Regions from separate parts of the Homo sapiens genome. Here all the other regions are linked to region 1. Evidence: promoter capture Hi-C in 16 types of primary human blood cells and fetal thymus (Javierre and others, 2016). All regions are on one chromosome and are shown on one strand. The core of a region is centred on a gene start or on the middle of the fragment in contact, and the rest is flanking DNA. Distances in the headings are between cores, read along the strand shown.

Region 1 (2,822 bases), core at 124-2,623:
CCCCACCATTTTAATGATTTGTGAAATATACTGGATTTGGATTGTTTTCTTCTCTCACATATAAGCACAATCCAAGTCTGGATTCTGCTCATTTTATATCCTTTTTAGAAACAAGTAGAAACAGGGTAGGATCTCCCTATTTTTTAATCCAAAGTATACCTTGGTTTAAAAGGTTTAATGATGACAAAGCACACTCCTGGAATTTGCAGCTATTGCCACAAATTCGATCGGAATCAAGGGTTCCTATTTATCCCAAAGATGATTTTAAAAATAAACTTTCCAATCAATCCAATTTTTCCTTCTTCTTTTTTTTTTTTTTTATCACCTGGCTGTTCCAAACTCCAACAATGCTTCAATCATTATTAATAAAACAGTAGTAAGTCCCCATATTGTTGCAGGGTGGGGGGAGATTAGTGTGGCCAAGTCAGTCCCGGGAAAAGAGCAAACAAACGAGAAGATGGAGAGGGGGGGAGGCGGAGAGGGAGAGAGAAAAGGGGGAGGAGGAGAGAGAGAGACAGAGAGAGAGGAGAGGAAAGGAAAGAGAGGAGAGAGGAGAGCGCGCGAGATATTGAGAGAGAGAGAGAGAGAAGAGAGGAGAGGGGAGAGAGAGAGAGAGGAGAGAGAGAGAGACCCAGAGAGAGAGGAGAGAGAGAGAGACCCAGAGAGAGAGAGAGAGAGAGAGACCCAGAGAGAGAGAGAGAGACCGAGAGAGAGAGGAGAGAGGAGAGAGAGAGAGAGGAGAGAGAGAGAGAGAGGAGAGAGAGAGAGAGAGAGACGAGAGGGAGAGGGAGAGGGAGAGGGAGAGGGAGAGGGAGAGGGAGAGGGAGAGAGGAGAGGGAGAGGGAGAGGGAGAGGGGGAGAGAGAGAGAGAGAGAGAGAGAGAGAGAGAGAGAGAGAGAGAGAGAGAGAGAGAGAGAGAGAGACCGAGACCCCGATTCCTGAATCCTGAAGGTGATTGGTCGCGGGAGGAGGGGCAGGCGGGAGGAGCGGGTCCCGCGGCGGGGCTTGCAGGAATCGCTGGCTCCGGCTGCCACCTAGCGGACGGGAGCCGCTCCCGGGCGGCACACAGCCGAGTCCCTCCTCCCCTCCCCGCAGGCAGCCTGTGCCTTTTCTCCAAACGAAGACAGCACTTTGAAAATTCTTTCAATGGATTTTTTTTTCCTTGAAAGATCGTACTGGGGGAAAATGATACTTCTATTAGTTACATATTCTCCAATCGCATACTCGCACCCCCCTCGTTTTGAGATCGCTCCCCTAGGCAGGCTCAGGCGGGCGCGGAGCCGCGCGGAGTGACAAAGCCGCCGCTGCCGCCGCCGGGGGTGGGAGCCGCGCTCGCCCGCCCGCCCCTCGACTCGCGAGGGCGTAAAAGTTTGTCTCAGCTCGAGCATTCCTAGCGCCAACACGCCCTCAGGTAAAGGTGGAAGTAAATGGCCACGCTGTATTGACAGAGGTAGGGTTTGTTTTTTAATACTCGTTCTCACTTTAAGTCTCACCAGGGAGGGGTTTGGGAAGCACTGCGTGTTTGGGGGACGTTTTGCGCTTCCTGGTCTCTCCAGCCTACAAGTCGGGAGTCGGCGACCGCTTAGTGACGAGCGATGATTTTAAAGAGCAGAATAAAAGGTTTTCCCGTGCCTGCCCCACAGCCCCTCCAGCTCGAATAATGGAGAACTGTCAATGCACTCCGCGAGCGGTGGCCCATTGTACGCAGCTGATGGCGAGGAGGCGACTGGGGGTAGCAGGGGCTCCTTGCCCTCGTCCCTATGCCCAAATAAACGCGCAAACGCGCTCCCGTCTTCTGGTCAGTTAAAAGGTGAAACGAACACGATTAAAATAGACCAAAAGAAAAGAAAGAAAAGAAAACCTTTCTATGTACAGATTCTAAATCGTACTCCCCATACAGTCAGAGGCAGGGAGTCGAGGGCAGAGGCAGCAGGCGGAGAGAGGGAGATAGGGCGAGGGAAGGAGAACGCGGAGAGAGACGAAGGGAGTGGGAGACCAGCGACAGCGAGCGCCAGGGCACCGCAGGCACACTGGATGCCCAGTCCGCCGGCCCAGCCGCCCTCGGACCCTGGACCGTGCGTCGTGGGCACCAGAAACGAGACTCGGCCAAATCCTGCCTCACCAGGCAAGTAACATAATGGTTGTCGTTTCTCTTGAACTTGGGGTTGGTAACGGGCAGGGCCGGGAGGCAGTCTTGGCTCGCACGGCCTCCGCAGGCCGAGAGCAGAGTCTAGGCAGCCAGGGCGGGACGAGGAGAACTTTCTTCGGGGCCTGCTCGGGAGTTGCCCTCGCTCGGCCTCTGTCTCGCCGTAGCGCTAAGGCGAGGATCGCGGCCGCCGCGCCTCCTTGGAGGGGAGGATCGTGCCAGGCGAGCAGCAATCCACATTCAAAACAGGCTGCTCCCACCCCCACCCGCTATTCCCTCTCTCTCCTAGGCGGGAAACGGATGCCCGGGCGGAGGACGGGGACCCGCACGTTTAACACCGGCCCGGCTGTTCCTGCTGGTGCCGAGCGCGACCCGCGGTGGAGCCGGCTGCAGAGTCCGGCCCGGCTGGCCCTTGTGCCCGCGCCTTGCCTGGTTACGGCCTGAACCTGGCGAGCTTGGCTGCAGCCGCCCACCTGCGGACGCCGTTTGTAACGCCATCCCCTAATGTAACGCGATCGATGGCTGCCTGTCTGATGTGGGCGATAGTGTCAGCGGATTAAAAGGGACATCGAGCCGCTCTCCCGAGCAGACAACCTGCGGCGGCGGCGAGAGAGCACCGGGATTCGCAGCCTAGCAGCCGAGCCAGACTCCCTGCGCCGCTGCCAGCCGGCTGGGG
Region 2 (2,822 bases), core at 159-2,658, 940 kb before region 1:
AAATGGTGAAAATTAAGTTGTAATTTATTTTGATTAAAGAAGATAAATTGTCAGATTACATACCAAACTGACATTTATCATAAATTTTGAAAATATTTATTTTGTATAACAATTGGACAAGAAATATCTAGACTTCAGATGATTAAGTTTTTAGAACAAGGTGTATAGGCATTGGTGAGTGGCAGACAACAAGACAGCCAACTAAAAACAAAATCAGGTGTAGATAATTAGTTCTGACATTTTATAATTTGTGACAAAATGATTTTAAAATAAAGTTTATCTGTCTTAGTTTGTATCAATGAGGGAGATCCCCTGAAATGCAACCACTCAATCCCTTTGTCAGTATTTGGACAAATTACCAAAATATCTAGCCCTCTAAAGGCTTTACCCTATTTATAAATTGTAGTTTTTGGCCTCTGCCCAGATTCGGATGTTAGAAATTAGCCTAAAATCTGAGTCCTCATTGAAACAGATTTAGGTAGACTAACTGCTGAGCCTTTCCAATTCACATTGCTGTAATCTATTAGGTTTCATTGAATGAGACACATGAGGATGCTATAATAAAAACCTTTGATAAAGAGTCCCTAGAGTCAAGGGGTATGCTTAGGGCATTGTGTTTCTCTGTCCATAGAAGTGCTTACATAAGTTAAGAAAATACAAGCCAATCTCTTGTCAGACGTAGAAGTGGTATTCCTGAATATGGCTGTCCCATCAGGAAATTGAGTGGCCTGTGGCCAGAGGAGGTATTGTTTTCCTTTTAAGTTCTTTGTGTTCATGAAAAGGCTCTTTGATTCTCAGAATGTATTTGTTTCAAGGTAATTTACTTTGAATTCACTCATGCTCAGAAGTCTCCTGAAAACTTTTACTTAAACTTTTACAGTGTATGTTTTATAGGCAACCCACACCTGGATGAATTTCAAAGAGTCTTTCGTATGACATCTATTTTAATAATGAGCGCTTGGTTTCTAAAGCCTACCAGGTTCTATCATATGGAACCTTTAATTAATAGCAGTTACGTTTTCAAAACACTAACTTTACCTCTTAGTATCAAATCTTTCTTAATATGATTAAGAGACAAATGCATAGCTGTCAATTTTTGGTGAGGTGTTTCAGCTTCAAAGGAATTTGCCTGTTTGAAAGCTTTCTTGAAGTTTAGATATGCTGCCATCAGGTGGTAGTAATATGTCATATCCCTGTGGCTCTGCAGATGGCACTCTGCTAAAGGTCACCAGTTTACCCCACAAAGATTTATAATCATCAATGCACATAAGTGTGTATGGAAATTAAAATAACATAGTGTATCTGTTATTTTATCAACAGGAAGGATACTTTGAATGGAAATTTTAAAACAGATACATATGGCAAGATTCTACTGGACATTTTTTCACTGTTCTTGGTTTACTTTTTTGGTGAATGAAGCATTTTATTTTATGCCTTATAAATATTTAGAAAATATGGAAAAGTAAAATTTAAAACTTACCTAATTACACCCACCCAAATATAATTGCTATTAACCCTTTGCTTCATTTCCTTCCAGTCGTTTTTTAAATGCAATTTTTAGTAATTTTTGTTTCTGTTTTTTGTAGTGGAGTTGGATGGCAGGAAAAGGTATTTGGCTGTAGTAACATTGTGTATATAGCTTGTATACTTTACAACTTTTAAAATTATAAGCTTTTTATAACTACTTCATGACTTCTTACTATTCCGTTGATTGAAATTTTTCATAATTTATATAGTCCTTCACCTCTTAGTAGATAATGTATATTTCTAATATTTACAGTGTTCAGTATTTTATCTCTCCCTTTCATCCACTGCCTATCAAGAGGGCTATTATCGAATTGCATCTATGCTTGATTTTTGTTTCAACACAAAAGAATTTCTAGTTCATCTGAGTAGCTATTTTATATTTCCTCTATCACATTTTTTACTGCCAGAAAATTTGAACTCTCAGCTTTCAACTATGAATGTATAGTCTGTTATTATTTTCATATCATATGAATGAATTTGTAAATTGTACAAAGCCAGGTACCACATATGAAGATTTCAGGGCCTGTGATATTATGAAATGAAGCCATTATCTATATCCTGCCAAAATAACTTTTTCTTCTGTTTTTTATAGCATAAAACATTGCATTAAAGAGATACAGTCCGAAATTAACAAACAATGTCCAGGTGTGCAGCTGCAAACAACAACTGACTGCTTTGAATGGCTAACTAACTATAATTACAGTACATCTGAATCATCTTTCATTTCTCATGGAGACTTGATAAAATTTTTCAAAACACTGGTAAAATGAATTTTTATTTTATCATGGAGTGGGATGAGTAAACAGGGAATACAACTCATTCAATTTCTATACGTAAATATTTATTTGAGTGACCATATTAGCCTGCCATACATAGGGGTTTGTGTTTTTATGTTCCTATATCCCCAACATAATCCACTGAGCTATTTGTTTTAATTTTTAACTATGATTTTTATCAATAAAATAAAATTTTATATAAATGGAGATACAATATTATGATTCCTGGGTGATTTGTGGTATGATATATATCATATCAATACCACAAAATGTATTGATGTGTATCACAGCTGTCTACCAGAAAAGTTCATATTCATTATGTTTTGTATCCTTTCACTATTCATTTTTTATATGCTCATTATTAAAGCATAATAAGATCCCCATGTATTGTGTCTATTAAGTGGCCTTGACTATTATTCCCTGCATTCCTAACCTGCAGTCTAACCCAGTTCTTTTCAATCAAGGTAGCAATTTATGCAAGACCACCAAATGACAGAGAATTATTATGTTGGGTATTCT
Region 3 (2,822 bases), core at 101-2,600, 680 kb after region 1:
ACAATATAAATATGATTATTAAAATTCTTTTATCAATATTTCTGAAAGTCATATAAATGTGTGATTTATTTTACAGAAATTTCAATAAGTCTCATTTTTCTAATTGACACATTTTAGCTTTTTTTCAAAAAAATAATATTTTATTTTAATTGAGACATACTAAAATTTCTAAAAGGTACTCGGGAATTTTCCTTACAAATCCTAAGAAAATACCCTCTGTTACGTAGTAGAATGAGTACAAGATTGGTTATTTCATTGAAAGTATTTTAACCTCTATAAGCAATTAAACCAACACGAAATAAGTTGAAGGAGCTCAAGTTTTAACAGACCGAAATAAATGAATAATCAAAAACATATTTATTTTTGTTTTAACTTAAAGAAAACACATGTGAAAAGGTGCAAAGATCTGCAGAAAAATAACATTTAAGTGGCCACCCGATATAGATAGGATATCAGTGGCTTGGGCAGTATTGTTCTCTATGATTTAAAGGGCCAGTAAAAACAGTTTCAATTCTGAAGCGATAATCACAAACTTTATATCACTTTCTCTGAAACCTCCTCTCTCCGGAAGAGAAGGAAAAGCAGTACAATGTGCTCATTGAAGAAGACAGCTCTGTACAGGCAGAAGAAGAAGCAGAGTCCTGTGCAGCTTCATTCTAATGTAGACTAAAGTGCATGGTATTGTTAGTGAGAAAACTTCTACAAATAGAGATAATTCTTTATCCAGGAGAAATGAAAAGAAATTACAACATAGCCAGCATAGGAGTGTTTCAAAAGTACAAATCAGTGATGCACACACACACACACACACACACAGCCCCAGATGTCAATGGTCTATTTTTCATTAAATAATTGAATTAAGATTACTTGAAAATAGATTCAATGTTTGTTGAAAGAAGTAAAATAGCTGTAGTTGTGTTATTGTTTGACAACATGGGTATTATCAACATTTGTTCTTTCATTGTTTATTCTATTATATGGAAATATCAAAATTTATTAATTTAACCCTCTAATAGTTGGGCATAGATTATTTTTCTTTCTTTCACTAGTACACAGAACTCAACTGAATAAAAATTTTTGTGCACATTCATAATACTTTCTTTAAATATATTTTTATAAATTAACTGACTGGTCAAAGGCACATTTTTCAGGCATTTCTTACATATGCCAACTTGCCTTAGAGGAAGGTTGTGCCAGTTTATAATCCTATAGCCTAAGAGAGCACTTGTATTTTTTTCCAGTGAGTATAAAAATTTAAGGCTTTTTTCTAATGTGAAAAATATCTTATTTTAAAAATGTGTAAATTTACTAAACCTCATTTTTCCATATGTTGTCTTTTAATTTTCTAAATGCATTTTTTGATACATTATTTTTTAACCAATTATTTTAATATGCTCCTTAAAGTTTCTCACTTTCTTGTTATGATAAGTCAGCTATAATTTATTCTAGATTTTTATGGTTTAATTATAAAAATACATTTTTAGTTCACCTAGATTTCATTTTGATGTATAGTGTTTGAAAAAAACCCTAGTTTTTTCTCCTTTTAAAAAAAAGTACATTAAAAGCTATACATCCAAATGAATTTTTTCTTCAAAGTCATTATCTTAGGTAGTTAATAACATATTTTAATGATACTCAGAACATATTTGTAAGTTTTCTCTAAAATTGTCTTTAATGCCAGTAGAAACTTATAAAGCCACATAAACACATCACTTTGGGATTTATAACTGTGCTTTGATTTTGATCAGAAGTGAAAAGACTCAGCTTGATCACTTATCTCATTCAGCAGACTTGGCTTTGATTGGCTTTCTGCTCTTTCTAAAAATAAAATCTGACCTCAATTGATGAAGATGCACCATCACTAAGAATATTTCAAAGGGTCTATACCAAAGATACCTAAGAATTCCTGAAAGAGGACTTCCAAAAATATTCGGAACAGTGGAATAAGGGTCTGCCCTCTTATAGTGACTAACTTGAAATTGGCAATACTCATTTTATTGTATCCATTCTGGTTTTGTTGTTTAAACTTTGTTTTCATTATTTAATAATTTTACTGTTTATATTTCCTCTAAGAATCAACTTGCTAAGTGAGCAATCTTGTGTATTAAACATCTCTTGTGTGATTTTAAGATGTCAATATACTTTTAAAAAACAAAACAATCCAAAACATATTTATACCAAAGCAGTATGTGTGTGTGTTTTAACCAGCAGATCTTGGACATATATAGCACAGTATCTCACACATAGGAATACAATTATAAACAACATTCTTATTAAACATATATTCTTCTTCTAGTACATTTAGTAATGAGAAACAGCAGTAAACATAGGACACAAATAATACGTAAAGGTAGTTAATGAAATATATATTCTAACAATACTTTTTTGGGGCAGAAACTTCATTTCCAGAAATATTAAATAAAGCATAGGATATAGTCTGGGATTTCAGGAAAGGAAAGAGAAGTTTTATTCAAAGATGACAAACTAGTGGACCTGAATTCTTCCTGTGCACTTAAGTTTACTTTTCTTTAATGTAAATGCTATTGAGTGAGCCCTATACCCTGAAGCCAGAGCTGGACCCTTACCCTGGCCCCCAAGGTATTTGAGTTTGCAATTTCCAAATTGGAATTTTCCAAAAACATTAAGCACAAATTAAACAAGTAAAACCTCATAAATTTGAGAATTCTTTTCATTCTTTTGAAAAAGGGGCTGTGATTTAAAAAGAAGGAGAGTACAAGATTTATCCTTTAGGTATGAAATGAAGGATTTATTGATTCTTGATTTTTGGAGTACACTAACCTTATGAACTATAGCCGCTTAAT
Region 4 (2,822 bases), core at 225-2,724, 650 kb after region 1:
TTATAATTCTATAGGCCAGAAATCTCACATGGGTCTTACTTGCCCATTGATCAAAACTTTGGCAAGGCTATTTTCCTTCCAGAAGCTCTAGGGAAGAATTTTTCTCCTTGTTTTTCTTCTGGCTTCTAGAGGTTTTCTGCATTCTTTCGCCCATGTACTCCTTCCTTTCTTCATGTTCAAGACCAGTAAATTTGCCTCTCCCTCACCCTGCCTCCCTCGTCACATCTTTCTCTGATGACAGCCAGGCAAAGAACTCCACTTTGAAGAACTCATGTGATTACATTGGGTTGCCTGGATAACCCAGGATGTCATCCATAAACACATCTGCAAAGGCCCCTTTGCCGTGAAAGGTAATATTCACAGATTCTTGGGATTAGGATGTGAACATTTTTAAGAATCCATTATTCTGCCTATCAGAGTATTTTAAGTTCCTTCCCAAAGTGCTAAATCACTAAATGTATTATAGCTTCATAAAATTAAATAAAGTATGAGTGTTTTGTTTCCTCTTTGCATGTGAGCCCTTTCCAAGTGACCAGGAAGATACTACTCATTCTTCAAGGTCCTGGACCAATGAGCCCTACTCTGGGACCTCTTTCTCTACTGCATCTAGTTGCTGCCCCTTCTGAATTTCTTCTCCATTTATAGGTGGTAGCTTCTGCATCCATCTCCAATGTGTCTTCCGGGCTCCTGTCAATAACAGGAGCTCCTAAAAACAGGGACTTAATCCAATTCAACTTTTTAAAAATAGCAGACATTGTAGGTGATATTCCTAGAGACACTTCCTAGGGGAACTTCCCACATTTTAGACTATCATCTATATGCCCATGACTCTCAAAATCATTATCTCCTGTTTTGATTCCTCCTAGAATTCTCAATTCACTTAGCCAACAGCCTATAAAATATCTCCTCTTCGATATCTAATAAACATCTGTGTTGTGGGTCTCCAAAGCTACTCTCAGATTCAATGATTTTCTAGAAGGACTCATAGAACTCAGAAAAGCTTTTGTACTCATGGTGACAGTTTGTTACAGTGAATGGATACAGATTGCAATCAGAAAAAAAAATGGTACAGAGGGCAAAGTACAGAGGAAATCAGATGCAGCTTCCAGTTGTCTTCTCCGGGTAACATTGTATGGCCAGCACTTAATTCTCCCAACAATAATGTGTGATAATACATGAAAAGTACTGCCAACCAGGGAAGCTCACCTGAGTCCTGATGTGCATGGTTTTGACTGTGAGTCGCTCATATAGGCATGCAGCACCTATATGATTAACCTTAGGTCAAACGGATATAGTCTCAGGGACCCAGAAAACAAAAACAGGTGTTTACCATAAATCACATTGTTAGCAAGACCCCAGGTATACAAAGACACTCTTATCATGCAGAATATTTCAAGAGCTTATAGACCTATCTCAGAAGCTGGTCAAGAGCCAGTCCTTTTTTGGAAGGTGAAGGGTTTGAACACCACAAGTCTGAATTAACCCTTTACTGAACAGCGTCTCCAATTTAACATGGCTAAATCCAGAACACTTCATTTTCCCCCAAACCTGCTCTTACATGAGTCTTTCCCACTTAGGTAAAAAGTATTAGTATCCATCCAGTGGCTCAAATAAACAAAACACAAACAAAAAAATCTAAAAATTATTCTTATTATTCTCCTCATCCTTTATGTCAGTTTCATCAGCAAGTGCTAGCAATTCTCCTTTTAAAACATTTCTAAAACAATCCCAAAATTTCCCACTTCTTTCTATCTCTACCATGATCATAGTCCAAGCCACTTTGGCTATAGTCTCCTAAATGATTTCCTTCTTTAACCTCCAATCTTTTCTACACAGAGCATCCAGAATGATATTTTAGAATAATAGAGATCGTGCCATTACCATGCTTAAATCCTCCAGTGGCTTTCCATCATCAGACCTAAAGCCTTCTCTGAATTAAAAAGCTTTATTCTAACCCCTGCTTGCTTCTTTAACCACCCCTCAATTACTCTTTATATCTCCACCTATGATTCTATCAAAATGGTCTTTTTTTTATTGCTTGGACTTGGCAAACTTGTTTTGCCTCAACTGTTCTGCTACTTGAAATACTTTCTCTATTTTTTCATGGCTGACTTCTTGTCATCATTTGTAATTTTCAGCTTAAATATCAACCTCCTCAGAGAGGCTTTTTCTGCCCATCCTAAAACAGGTAGCTGATTACTCACCTGACATCATCCAATTTTAATTCTTTGCATTGTATTATAGTTATTGATATCTAACCGTTTCTATTGTTTATCTTTAAAAAAATTTATGTCTTAACTTTTCTTTTCTTGTGCATAATATAAGATCCCATGAAGGCTTGGTCTTGCTTATTCCTTTTGTATTTCTTGGTTGACATGTAACAGACACCCAATGGATATATTTACTCAGTGGATAAATTTTTTAGCATCATCATGAGAGGTTAAAAAGTTGCTTGGGATTATAACTGGTGTTTAATGAAAAGTAGTTTAACTGAATTTTTGGTCTAATAAGAATCAGAAGAATTCCAATAAAGTTATCTGCCTTTAACTCTCATAATTTTTTTTTTTTGGCATTTTCTTTCCATTTACTCATTTGTACGCAGCAGCCATGATTTTTGGTCTTAGCTATTTAAAAACACCAAAATGATTCTTATATCTTGGTGAGTTTTAGCAACATGTTAAAAATTTGATTTTAAGGCTGAGATAGTTTCTAAATATTTTATAGTTTATTAAACAATCAACCAGAACAACATTGAAGAGTCAGGTTTATAAAAATCCCTTACTTTTTTTTTTTGGTATGGCTAGGCTTTTAGACTAGGAATA

What was found. The method cuts DNA at HindIII sites, captures the fragments that hold promoters and counts their contacts. A CHiCAGO score of 5 or more calls a contact.
Region 2: a contact is called between a fragment that was not itself captured here and the fragment with the promoter of NR2F1-AS1 in region 1, in 1 of 17 cell types (fetal thymus). The highest score is 6.9, in fetal thymus.
Region 3: a contact is called between a fragment that was not itself captured here and the fragment with the promoter of NR2F1-AS1 in region 1, in 1 of 17 cell types (endothelial precursors). The highest score is 5.9, in endothelial precursors.
Region 4: a contact is called between a fragment that was not itself captured here and the fragment with the promoter of NR2F1-AS1 in region 1, in 1 of 17 cell types (endothelial precursors). The highest score is 5.5, in endothelial precursors.

The regions. Positions count from the first base shown.
Region 1 is chr5:93,579,770-93,582,591 of GRCh38, reverse strand. It overlaps NR2F1-AS1 (NR2F1 regulatory antisense RNA 1), which reads left to right and starts at 1,373. Exons shown (of 8, transcript NR_186187.1): 1 at 1,373-1,450. RefSeq lists a silencer at 928-977 and an enhancer at 1,098-1,197. The HindIII fragment of the contact is 7,751 bases long and covers 1-2,822 here.
Region 2 is chr5:94,523,396-94,526,217 of GRCh38, reverse strand. KIAA0825 reads left to right here. Exons shown (of 21, transcript NM_001145678.3): 4 at 2,120-2,288. Among named protein-coding and RNA genes, the nearest start is that of KIAA0825, 94 kb to the left of the region's middle. The HindIII fragment of the contact is 531 bases long and covers 1,143-1,673 here.
Region 3 is chr5:92,902,014-92,904,835 of GRCh38, reverse strand. No RefSeq gene overlaps it. Among named protein-coding and RNA genes, the nearest start is that of LINC02058, 36 kb to the left of the region's middle. The HindIII fragment of the contact is 5,814 bases long and covers 1-2,822 here.
Region 4 is chr5:92,928,505-92,931,326 of GRCh38, reverse strand. All of the region lies in intron 1 of LINC02058 (long intergenic non-protein coding RNA 2058), which reads left to right. Among named protein-coding and RNA genes, the nearest start is that of LINC02058, 9.9 kb to the left of the region's middle. The HindIII fragment of the contact is 943 bases long and covers 1,003-1,945 here.